2 separate regions of the Homo sapiens genome follow, and region 1 is linked to region 2. The links are contacts of gene promoters, found by promoter capture Hi-C in human tissues and cell types (Jung and others, 2019). All regions are on one chromosome and are shown on one strand. Each heading gives the region's core, a stretch centred on a gene start or on the middle of the fragment in contact. The rest is flanking DNA. Distances are from core to core; before and after follow the strand shown.

Region 1 (5,783 bases), core at 3,257-5,756, 320 kb before region 2:
CAGGAGCTCAAGACCAGTCTGGCCAATATGGTGAAACCTCATCTTTACTAAAAATAAAAAAATTGGCTGGGTGTGGTGGCATGCTCCTGTAATCCCAGCTACTCAGGAGGCTGAAGCAGGAGAATTGCTTGAACCCAGGAGGCAGAGGTTGCAATGAGCTGAGATTGCGTCACTGAACTCCAGCCTGGGCAACAGAGCAAGACTCCATCTCAAAAAAAAAAAAAAAAACCGTCAAGAGGCAATGCTTATAAAATGCCTAGCCCAGCATCTGTCACAATCAGTAAATGTTAGCTGCATAAATAATTTTACTCAATGTTTCAACCTGACCACAGAAACTTCCCCTATCCATGCCTCCTCCACCCCCATTTAACCATCATCCACAGTGGTGAATGTCACAAAGCACATGCTGTCAGAAATGCCTGTGTAGCTAACAGTCGTGCCATTGAACAAGTGAGGCACGTGGGGCCAGAAGGAACACAGGACAGAGCCATGAGCCTACATATTAGACCTGATGGCTTGGCCACATTGCTGCATCTCGGCCTAAGGAGCTAAGCTTGTGGCTGCCTGTGGGTCCAACAGCCTGCAGTGTCAGGTCTCCCAGGAAAGGACCAGGTACCAGGGAGCCACTGGCTTCACATTAGAGCAGGCTGGCACAAGTTTTGGTTCCCATGGACCCTCAGGGTAGCCTAAGGCACGCTTAGGTCAGGAGTTAATGGAGTTTGGCTCCTCCTCTGCTTGATGGGTGCCTGGAGGTGAGGGCTGTGTAAAGGAAGAAGATGTGCATTTAAGCCTTGGTGCTGATGCTCTTTGCCTGCTGGAGGTTGGCTGGCTGCTCCTGCTCCCTTGCGCTCCAGAGCCTCTTAAATTGTCTTCAGAGAGGGAACACTAATCCCTGACTGGTGCAGGACTTTTCAGTCCCCAAAACACATCGATTTTCATAATCTCACTTGATCCCTTAACTGCCCTCCCTGTGAGCAGACTAAGCCTCTCCTCAACTTGGCCAATTCTAAATGTGAAGGTCAGAAAACACAATGCGCCTTGCCTAAGGCCACAGAGTTATGGTGTGGTCATCCTGAGGCTGGAACCCAGGTATCCTTGCTCCCTGTCCTGTGCTCTTACCGCTCTACCTGGCTGCTGTCCAAGGCATTTAGTGGAATGTTCACTGTGGTGTGAGGGAACCAGGCTCCCCTTTTTTTTAATTCAATATTATTGAGCACCTATTAACTGTTAGCCATTGTATTAGGGATAAAATTACAGGCCTTTGTGGTGTGTGTGTGTGTGTGTGTGTGTGTGTCTGTGTGTGTGTGTGTGTTAATGGCTTTATTAAGGTGTAGTTGATAAACAAAAACTGCACATATTTAATATATATAGGACCCAGGACTTTCAAGCAAACAGCTCTAGGCCCATAAACATATGAAAAGATATTCAACCTTATTAGAATTCAGAGAGATGCAAATTGAGACCATTATGACATCCTTTTACACCCACTGGATTGGCAAGTAATTAAAGAGCCTGACAATACCAAGTGTTGGCAAGGATGTGGATCAACCAGATGCTTATACACTGCTGGGAGGAATGTCTATGGGAATAAGTGACTTGGAAAATCATTCCAGTATGATCTTGTAAAGCTGATCGATCACTTTCCCTGCAGTCTCACAGTTCCCCTCCTAGGCAACATATACTCCCAAGCACATACACACCCATGCTTACCATTGTGAACACACTGGTTGATAGAATCTTGAAATTCTTCCATGCCAGTTGGTAAATAGCTACTATTCCAAGTCTCCCCCACCCATTTACCTGTGACCACCTGTGATCCAGCTGCCCCCAGCCTTTCCTTTAGGTATCCACCCAAACTCCCCATGATCCAACAACTAAAATGTTAATACCCCATAGACTACCCCCAGGACCACATTCCAGCTCCACAGCGTCCATTCTGATTGCTCAGTGCCCTCACCTCTCCAGTTGTTTATTTTTATTGTGTCCACCCTAGAGAAACCCTTGCTCACATGCACCAAGAGAAATGCACAAGGTTATTCGTAGAATCAATCTTCTTAATAGAAACAACAATAACCACAACAACCACAATAACCAAACAACTATAAATAACCTCAGGTCCATGCAAGGGAGATGCCCAACCAAGCCACTTCCTTCTGTCAGCTCAAAGAAGCTCCTGCAGGGTTCAGGGCAGACAGAAGAGATGGGCTCTTTTTTTTTTTTTTTTTGAGACAGAGTCTTGCTGTGCTGCCCAGGCCAGAGTGCAATGGTGAGGTCTCGGCTCACTGCAGCCTCCACCTCCCGGGTTCAAGCGATTCTCCTGCCTCAGCCTCCCGAGTAGCTGGGACTACAGGTCTGGCTACAGGACTACAGGACTACACATCTGGCTAATTTTTGTATTTTTAGTAGAGACAGGGTTTCACTATGTTGGCCAGGCTGATCTTGAACTCCTGACCTCATGACCTGAGATAGGCTCATTTTCTAGTGGGATCCAAGCCCAGGCAGATGGTCATGCTCACTCTGTGCCTTAGGGTTGTATCTTATTTACCATTCAAGGTAGCAGTTAGCATTCTTAATCCCATTTTACAGGTAAGGAAACTGAAACGTAGAGAAGTACTATAACTTGCCCAACGTCATACATCGTAGAGCTGGGGTTTGAGCCCATGTCTTTGTGATTTCAAAGTCCAAACTCTTCTTCACTAGTAGGGGCACATTACCATAGGTGGGAGTTCTTGGCATGTGGGCCTTTTTCACTTGGGATCCCCAGCAACTGGCACAGAGCCTGACACAGAGGAAGACGCTCAGTGAACAGACTGATACAGCAAAGCAGTCAGTCGATCCACTGTGACTGACTTCAGCCTCTGCACTGAGCCTCACTTCCTACTTACCTCCCTGATTCCTGAAATCCAGGCCAGAAGACCATTTTGCCCTGAGATCCCTTGTTTCCTGATCTCCTGATTTTGAACCTGGACTTGCAAGATACATCTTCTCTGAGACCACTCCAAATATTTTAACACAAAGACTGTGACTCTAGTCATTCATTCCTTCCTTCCATTATTCCTATGTTTTGTTTTTTGTTTTGTTTTGTTTTGTTTTTGAGATGGAGTCTCGCTCTGTCCCCCCAGGTTGGAGTGCAACAGCACGATCTTGGCTCATTGCAACCTTCACCTCCCGGGTTCAAGCAATTCTCCTACCTCAGCCTCCCGAGTAGCTGGGATTACAGGCATGTGCCACCACACCCGGCTAATTTTTTGTATTTTTAGTAGAGATTGGGTTTCACCATGTTGCCCAGGCTTGTCTCGAACTCCTGAGCTCAGGCAATCCACTCCCCTCGGCTTCCCAAAGTGTTAAGATTACAGGCATGAGCCACGGCATCCGGCCTTATTCTTTAAATATTGATTGCACACCCATATGTGCAAGGCACCGAGCTGAGCTTGGGAGAAACAGCAGTAGCCACACAAAGTCCCTGCTTTCTGGAACTCTCAGCCTGCCCTGGGTGCCCCCAACCTTGAAACACATTCCTCAGAGCAGCTGGGTGCTGACATGAAGCCCACACGCCTGGCTCAGTGGCCCTTCAACCCAGCAAAACAGCAAATCCAGGAGGCTGACACTGAAGTACCTGGGTGTTTTGTCCCCACATGCCTCCTGTCTGACCTTCTGCCTGAGGAAAGAGTTTGTTTTTGCTCCAGGAAGAGAGGTATAGCTGTGGGAAATTCAATGTGCTTATTTATTTGTTTGGCTTCCCTAATTTAATCTTCTCAACAAATAAAAATAAAGATAGCATGTTTGCCCAAATAGCAAAAGGCCCCACCTGAGATGTTATTACGCTTTCCAGAATTAGTCACACCATTACTGCTAGTGGCCAACGTGCCCAGGGCAACTGAGGGTTAGAAGCCCAAGCTCCCAGCCCAGCTCTGCCGATGATGGTTTGATAACAGAGATGTCATTTCACCTCTTCAAGTCTTGTTTCCCTCCTTTATAAGATGAAATGCTTGATGCTTACAAAGTCAGAACTTTCACATTCACTACCTCATTTTGTGTTCTTAATATGCTGTGAAGAAGGCATTTTGATCCTATTTTACTGGTGGAAAAATTAAAGCAGAAGAGACAGAAGAGTCCAAGTGACCCAATTGATAAGAAGAGGCAGAGACAGGAGCCGAATCCAAGCTTCCAACTCTTGCCTGGGGTCCTTTTGTCCTCACCAGGGTTTCTCATACTTGAGTAACATACAGATGCCTCCAAAATAATTCTCACTGGCCCAAGAATATGCCCAGAAATCTTAGGAGTCTGCAGACACAAATTTAAGAACCTTCTAAGTTTGATTTACAGCAAAATCTTGGTTTATTCAGGTGGCTGTAAAGTCATTGATTACCCCAGCGCCAGTGTGATCACAAAGGCAAACATCAACACAGCATTGAAATCACTTGTCCATACAATGTTATAAGGCAGATGTTCAAATTATCGAAAAATATAATTTTTTTTTTGAGACAGAGTTTCGTTCTCATTGCTCAGGCTGGAGTGCAATGGTGCAATCTCAGCTCACTGCAACCTCCACCTCCCGGGTTAGAGCGATTCTCCTGCCTCAGCCTCCCAAGTAGCTGGGATTACAGGCGCTGCCACCACACCCAGCTAATTTTGTATTTTTAGTAGAGGCAGGTTTCACCACGTTGGTCAGGCTAGTCTCGGACTCCTGACCTCAGGTGATCCACCCGCCTCAGCCTTCCAAAGTGCTGGGATTGTAGGCGTGAGCCACTGTGCCTGGCCTAAAATTTTTCTTTTTTTTTTTTTTTTAGAGATCGAGTCTCACTCTGTCTCCCAGGCTGGAGTGCAGTGGTGCAATCTCAGCTTACTGCAACCTCCACCTCCTGGGTTCGAGCAATTCTCCTGCCTCAGCCTCCCGAGTAGCTGGGATTGCAGATGCGCACTGCCACACCAGCTAATTTTTTGTATTTTAGTAGAGACAGGGTTTCACCGGGTTGCCCAGGCTGGTCTCAAACTCCTGAGCTCAGGCAATCCACCCGCCTTGGCCTCCCAAGGTGCTAGGATTACAGGCATGAGCCACTGCATCCGGTTAAAATCTTTAATTATTTTAGATTATCATTGAAATGAAAATTAAAAATCAAACTCTTGAAGAACTTGTCGGAACCGTCCCCTTTCCCATTCTGAGATTCTGTCAGGCTGCCTCCACATTGCCTGAAAACCCGTCCCTGTTCTAACATTCTTTGAGTTTCCCTGGTAACCATCTGCTGGTGGAAATGACAATTAAGCTGTTCAGCTGCCTGGTTCACTTAGTTCCCCCATTATGGCTCTGTGCCAGGGTCAAGAAGGCCTGAATTTACCCACCTGCAGCAATGGGCCAAAGGAGAGAGATCCTCTCAGGGACAGGATGAGTCTCAAAACACAGAGTAGAAAAAGCCTGCACCTGGACGGACATTGTTCATCCTTCCACCACCTCATCCACTAATGCATCCGTTCTGCATTCACTCTCGCCTGTTACATTCCAGGTCCACATTTGTGGGAGAGAAGATGGGGTGAAAAAATAAGCAAGGTTTACCTTGGTGTATATAATGTACTACTATCAATATTGTGTGCCTCTGTGTGTGTGTGTGTGTGTGTGTGTGTGTGTGTGTGTGTGTGTGTATGCAGTCATATCTAAGCCCTGGTAATATTGCATCCTCCTGGGAAGAGAACCGAGAAGCTGGGGAACAGAGGATGGGAGCCCAGGAGATTTACTTTTCTCGGTACCCTTTGCATACCTTTACACGTTTGCATCATGTGTATACATC
Region 2 (5,556 bases), core at 507-3,006:
AGGTAATGTCTCAGGGTGGTATTGTCCAGGCCCTGACCACAGAGCACTATCACCAGAGTGGGCAGGGCCAAGCTGGGTCAGGGCTCTGTGCTCTGAGGCTGTTTCCTCATGGCAGGTGGGGGTGCCAGGGCAGGAAAGGCGCCACTGTAAGAGGTCCCGTCTGAGCCAGGCAGCCCCAGTGAGGCAAGGACTCGGGCCATGAGGCATCCTCTCCTGGCAGGAGTGTCCTTTGGCCAGAGAAGGGGATTGTGATCCTGCTCCCAGGTGAGGCTAAGCTTGCCCTGGGAACACACCTCACTCTTCCTCTCTAGAAGCTCAGGCCCACCGAGGGCCAGGAAGCTAAGGTCAGGGTGGTGGACAGCAGAATCTAGGCTTCTGATTTGAGAGGTGTCAGAAATACACCCCAGGATAGTCTGCCAGCACACAGACACCGGTGGTCCCCACCCTGCACCCAGCCCATCCTTGCTAGGCCCACCCTTCCCCAGGAGTGTGTGCCTTGGACCCAATCTTTATCTTCGGCTGGGGCCTCACTGCAGCACAGTGTCCCATTGCCTACTGGTGATCTCATCCCAGTCCCCCGACACCTCAAAGTTCATCCAAAACTGACCTCAGTGTCTGCCCCCACCCCTCCTGCTCCTCCCCTTCCAGTCACCCAAGCATGAAACAGGGGAGTGGGACTCCCTTTCCTCACCTTCCACATCCAGTTCCTCACCAAGACCCAAGGGTTCTTCAAATAACCCTCAACTCCCTCTCCTCTCCATCTCCTTGTCACTGCCCTGATCCAGCCACCCCTGGTGACAGTCAGGTCCTCCTGCCTCCAGTCTGGCCCCCTCCAACCCATTTCCCACATGGCAGCAAAGATATCTTTGGAAAATGCCAATCCGATCACTCCATTTCACCACTTTAATCTTGTCAGCAACCCTTTATAAACACAGTTTCCTTTTGAAAGCCTGCTGGGATCTGGCCGCTGCCCCCACTGTCTGGGCTAATCTCTCAGCACTGCCCCCAGCTCCGGCTCTACTTGCCAACCCCCTACCCATCTTTGTAGGTGACATGTCCACTGCCTGCCATGCCCCTTCTCTGCCCAGTGAACTCCCACTCATCCTTCAAGGCCCAACTCCAGTGTGTCCTCCTCTGGGAAGCCTTCTCACCCCCCACCCCAGGCTGAGCTGGTAACTCCCTCCCCTGGGCTCTCCCAGAGCCTTCCCCAAAGCTTGTTTACCCGTCTGAATCTGACCTGGCTGAGCTCCTTGAAGACAGAGCCCTGCCTTATTTATTTTCAGTCCTTAGAGAGAGGCTCAGGGAATGTGAGAAGGTAGAGGGAGGGAGGGAGGGAGGGAGGAGGGGAGAAAAGAAGGCAGGCAGGAAGGAGGCAGAAGAAGAAAGGCAGGAGAGAAGAAAGGAAGGAAGAAAAGGATAAGTCAAGCAAAGATATTGAGGAGCAATTCATTCATCCATCTATCTATCCATCCATTCCTTCCTTCGACAAATATCTGCTGAGTTCCTATCAAGCACCATTCTTGGCACTAAGGATATAACAGTTAACAAGCGGAAGCTACCAGCAGCTGACCCTCAACATTTCCAGGTGACTTTGGTGTGTGCATATGTGAGTGTGTGTGTACACGTGGGTGCAAGCCCTCTGTCTGCACAGGCCTGTTGCCAGGGCACCTGTCTTCCCTAGGGTCTGGTGCTTTTAGCCTCTGGCTCCAGCTCCTATTGCAGCCCGAAATAAGGCTGTGACCCATGGCAAGGCAGGAATGATTCTCATCAGCTGAAGCCAGAGCTGGCTGCAGGGGACACCCTGCTCGCTGCCTACTGACTGCTGACCGCTGACTGCCTACAGGGACGCCACGCAACTCTCAGCTTCCCGACAGAGGTGTTAATCTTGAGGGTCTAAGATTCCCTCCTGCCTATTGTGGTCCCATCCTCTCAGGTACCAGCATCCTAGGGGAGCTTGGGGAACTCAGGGGAGTGGGCAGAGGAGGTGAGCCAATCCCCAGAGCTCCTTCCCCCGGAGAGGAAGGGCCCTGCAGTGGATCTAGGGAGTTTGGGGCCCCATGCAAGCCTCGATCCTGGTTTGGGAGGAGAGGAACTCTAAGCTCTAGGTTACCCTGCATTAAATGGGGAGGGTGTGGCTAGGATTAAAGGTGGGGAATAGGTAATGGCTCTGCTCAGGACTTTGGGATTTTTAGGCAGTAGAGGGAAGCAGCTTCTCTGTAAAATGAGAGACCCTTCCCAGCATCTGTGAATTTCTGTAAAGGGAGTGTTTATCAAGAAACAGATCTGTGGACTGTGGAATCCTAAACGGTTGTGATCGAGGCATTCTCAATCATCCCATGACCCTCACCCCAAATGCATGTAGACACACTCATGTTTACGTATAGTTTTAGGGGGTTTGTGAACACCCTAAAGCCCATCCATGGATCTCTGTGATTTAGCCTAACCCCCTACTGTTACAGATGGGGGAACTGAGGTGCAGAGCTGGAAAGCTACTTGTTCGCAGTTACAGAGAAAGCCAGGGACACCCACTAGACTCCAGTTGCACAATGCAGTGCCCACTGACTCCCAGGGCCCCTTGTCGGTGTTGGGGATACAGATGAAGGCAGATTGTTTTCTAAAGGAAGGAGTATAGGAAAACCTGGAGGCAAAGGAGAAGGGTACCCAGGTGGGTGGTCAGTCGAGGAGCTCAAGGGCTCTGCCTCTTCTCCAGAGGGCAAGTTAAGGTACCTGGGCAAGTTAAGGGCTCTGGACCTCATTTTATTTGCAAATCTCTTCCAAGATTCTTTGAAAGTGCCATGAGATACAAATAGGGGGATGGAACAGGAGGAAGAGAAGGGACGAGGGAGAAGAGAACACCACGGAAGTTAGCCCAGTAGCGGGGAGATGGGGAGGACGGGGGATGGTTCTCTCTGCTTGGTTGGACCAGCCTGTGCCCTCAAGCGTCAGGGCCAAGTGCCAAGGATGAAAGGGGCTCACCAGCCTTGCAGACCCCAGTGTAACCCCAACCTAGTCCATCCTCCCCCTTCCCCTAACTTAAACCTCCAACTTCTTTCAGCCTTGGACTAGGACTCTCCTGGGTCAACCGATGACAGTAGTGCCTGAGACCTTTGCCTGCCCCACCCGGATGCCCCTGGCACCTACTCTCCCTCTGATCAGGATGCCAGAGCTGGGAAAAGGCCCTAGAAACCACCCCTGAAGAGACAGTGCTTCCCTAGCAACATGAAAATAGATTCGTGCAAACTTGAGCACCTCCCTCTCGTTCCCTGGGCCTCAGTCTCCTCTGCACGGAGACCCTGAAGTCCCTTCCAGCTCAGACATCCCTTGCTTGTGATTTGGGGCTGGCCTAAAGCTGTTCAGGACTGGGGCAGGGTGAACCAGAGACTGGAAGGAGGTCTGGGGAGAAATGGAGGCAGCCTGGTCCATTTATGGGGGTCTCTCCTCCACAGGATGATCCCCAAGGAGCAGAAGGGGCCAGTGATGGCTGCCATGGGGGACCTCACTGAACCAGGTAAGGTGGTTCTAGCCTCATGCCTTCCTCAGACTCCATCATTTCCTTGCTCCCAGGCTGCACTCACTCTGGCCTGCTGGCCCCAGGCCTGGGCAGACAGGTGTGAGCTCCAGGCCAGCTCTGAGGGAGTGCCTGTAGAATTTGCTGCCTAGGCTGGGAAGCTTCCCTGAGGCACTGGGAGGGGTCTTGCCCATCTGTCCACAGACCCAGGAGCTGAGGCTGAGTGTCCCAGGCTGGGCCTTGGCTCTAAAATGACCCTGGCCCTGGCTTCATCTAAGGCCTCACCTCAGCCCCAAATTAAGCTCTGAAGACTCTGGTCCCAACTCCAGCCCTACCTGTGGCTGCAAGCTCTGCACACACTTGCCTTTGCCTATTACTCCTGTGGGTCTCACCGAGGCCTCTGGGTGGCCCAGGATGGCTGGGCCCCATGGCTAAGAGAGGGGAGTGGAGAGAGTGGAGTAGGGTGGGAAGACAGGGGAGTCGAGAGAGTGGAGCAGGGTGGGAAGAGCAGGCTGCCCATTTGAATACAAAACTTTCTACTTAAAGCTGATTCATCAAATGAGTAAATCATTTTTATCATTTCATTAAAAAAGTTTAAATTCATTTTTATCAATTTTAGAAGACCTCTTGAGGAACTCTTGATACAATTTTGGAATCTGTTTATTTGGTCTACTTTAGAGGATTTCAGGTATTTTAAAAATTAATTTAGGGGCTGGACACAGAGGCTGATGCCTTTAATCCCAGCACTTTGGGAGGCTGAGGTGGAAGAATTGCTTGAGCCCAGGAGTTTGAGACCAGCCGGGGCAACATGGTGAGACTCCATCTCTACAAAAAAAAAAAATTAGCCAGGCATGGTGGCACATGCCTGTGGTCCCAGCTACTCAGGAGGCTGAGGCAAGAGGATCGTTTGAGCCTAGGAGTTGGAGGCTATAGTGAGCTACGGTTGTGCCACTGCACTCCAGCCTGGGTGACAGAGGGAGACTCTGTCTCTAAAAAAAAAAAAAAAGAAAAAGAAAAAAATTAATTCAACTAAGTCAGAGTTCTCAAGCTTTATTGTGAATCATAATGATTTGATGTTGGTTAAGCATACAGAGTCCCAGCATCTACTCCTGAGGATTCTGACTCAGGGGACCTAAGTTAGGACTTGTGCATTTGCCTTCAGCGTGCTAAGGAGTCAGTCATATTTCATGACTTCATATGTGGCATCCTTTTAACCTATTTTGTGTGCTCTTGCCTCCTTTTGTTGATGTCCAGTTTCTTCCCCTACCCTGATTTTGTAGCTGAAATATGCACATTCTATGGGTACTGACGCTCTAACTAGAAGGGTCAGGCAATGCATTCTCTTTTCTCTTGGGGAGTTCATTACAGACCCCCAAATATGGAGACACATCATTGATACAAGACTTGAAATATATAACTTGTTGATTATTGCTAAGGTACTGACTAAAGACAATTTTGAAACAAAAGTAGGAAGAAAAAATAAATCTCATAATCTCACTACCTAAAGACGGCCACTGTAAAGTAAAAGTTATAAAAATGTTTACCATCATTGCATGCTTACTATGTGGCAGATACTTTGCTAAGAGAAAAGTATCCTTTATGCTTTGTGTCATTTCATCCCCACCACAACTCCCTAAGTTAGATATTCTCCTCATTTTGGAAATGAGAATATTGAGGCTCAGAGGAGCAGGTGATCACATCTGGTAGGTGGTAGAGCTGCAATTTGACTCCAGGTCTCTTTGTCTTCAGAGCTGTTTCTTTATTACATGGTTACAATGATAATACATCACTTTTTAAAAAAAAAATTCACTTGCCATTGACTTGGCATACATTAAAAAAATTTGTTTAATTCAGACAAAACAGACATGAACGGCTTTGAAAGTTCATCATAATGGAACCATCTGGAGATAACCACTGTTAACATATTTATGTAAATTCTTGTTCTGTTCATATATGAATGTCTTTATATAAACATACATACACATGGGCTAAATACTATATGCTATGTTCTTTGGCTTTTTTTTTTTTTCATTTAGCAGCATTCCATC

The links. The method cuts DNA at HindIII sites, captures the fragments that hold promoters and counts their contacts. A contact is called where the count stands out against the background at its distance.
Region 1: a contact is called between a fragment that was not itself captured here and the fragment with the promoter of MYOZ3 in region 2, in 1 of the 25 tissues and cell types used here (spleen).

The regions. Positions count from the first base shown.
Region 1 is chr5:150,340,658-150,346,440 of GRCh38, forward strand. No RefSeq gene overlaps it. Among named protein-coding and RNA genes, the nearest start is that of TCOF1, 14 kb to the right of the region's middle. The HindIII fragment of the contact is 4,296 bases long and covers 2,359-5,783 here.
Region 2 is chr5:150,659,495-150,665,050 of GRCh38, forward strand. MYOZ3 (myozenin 3) reads left to right here and starts at 1,757. Exons shown (of 7, transcript NM_001122853.3): 1 at 1,757-1,933; 2 at 3,447-3,508. The coding sequence starts at 3,448. The HindIII fragment of the contact is 3,368 bases long and covers 745-4,112 here.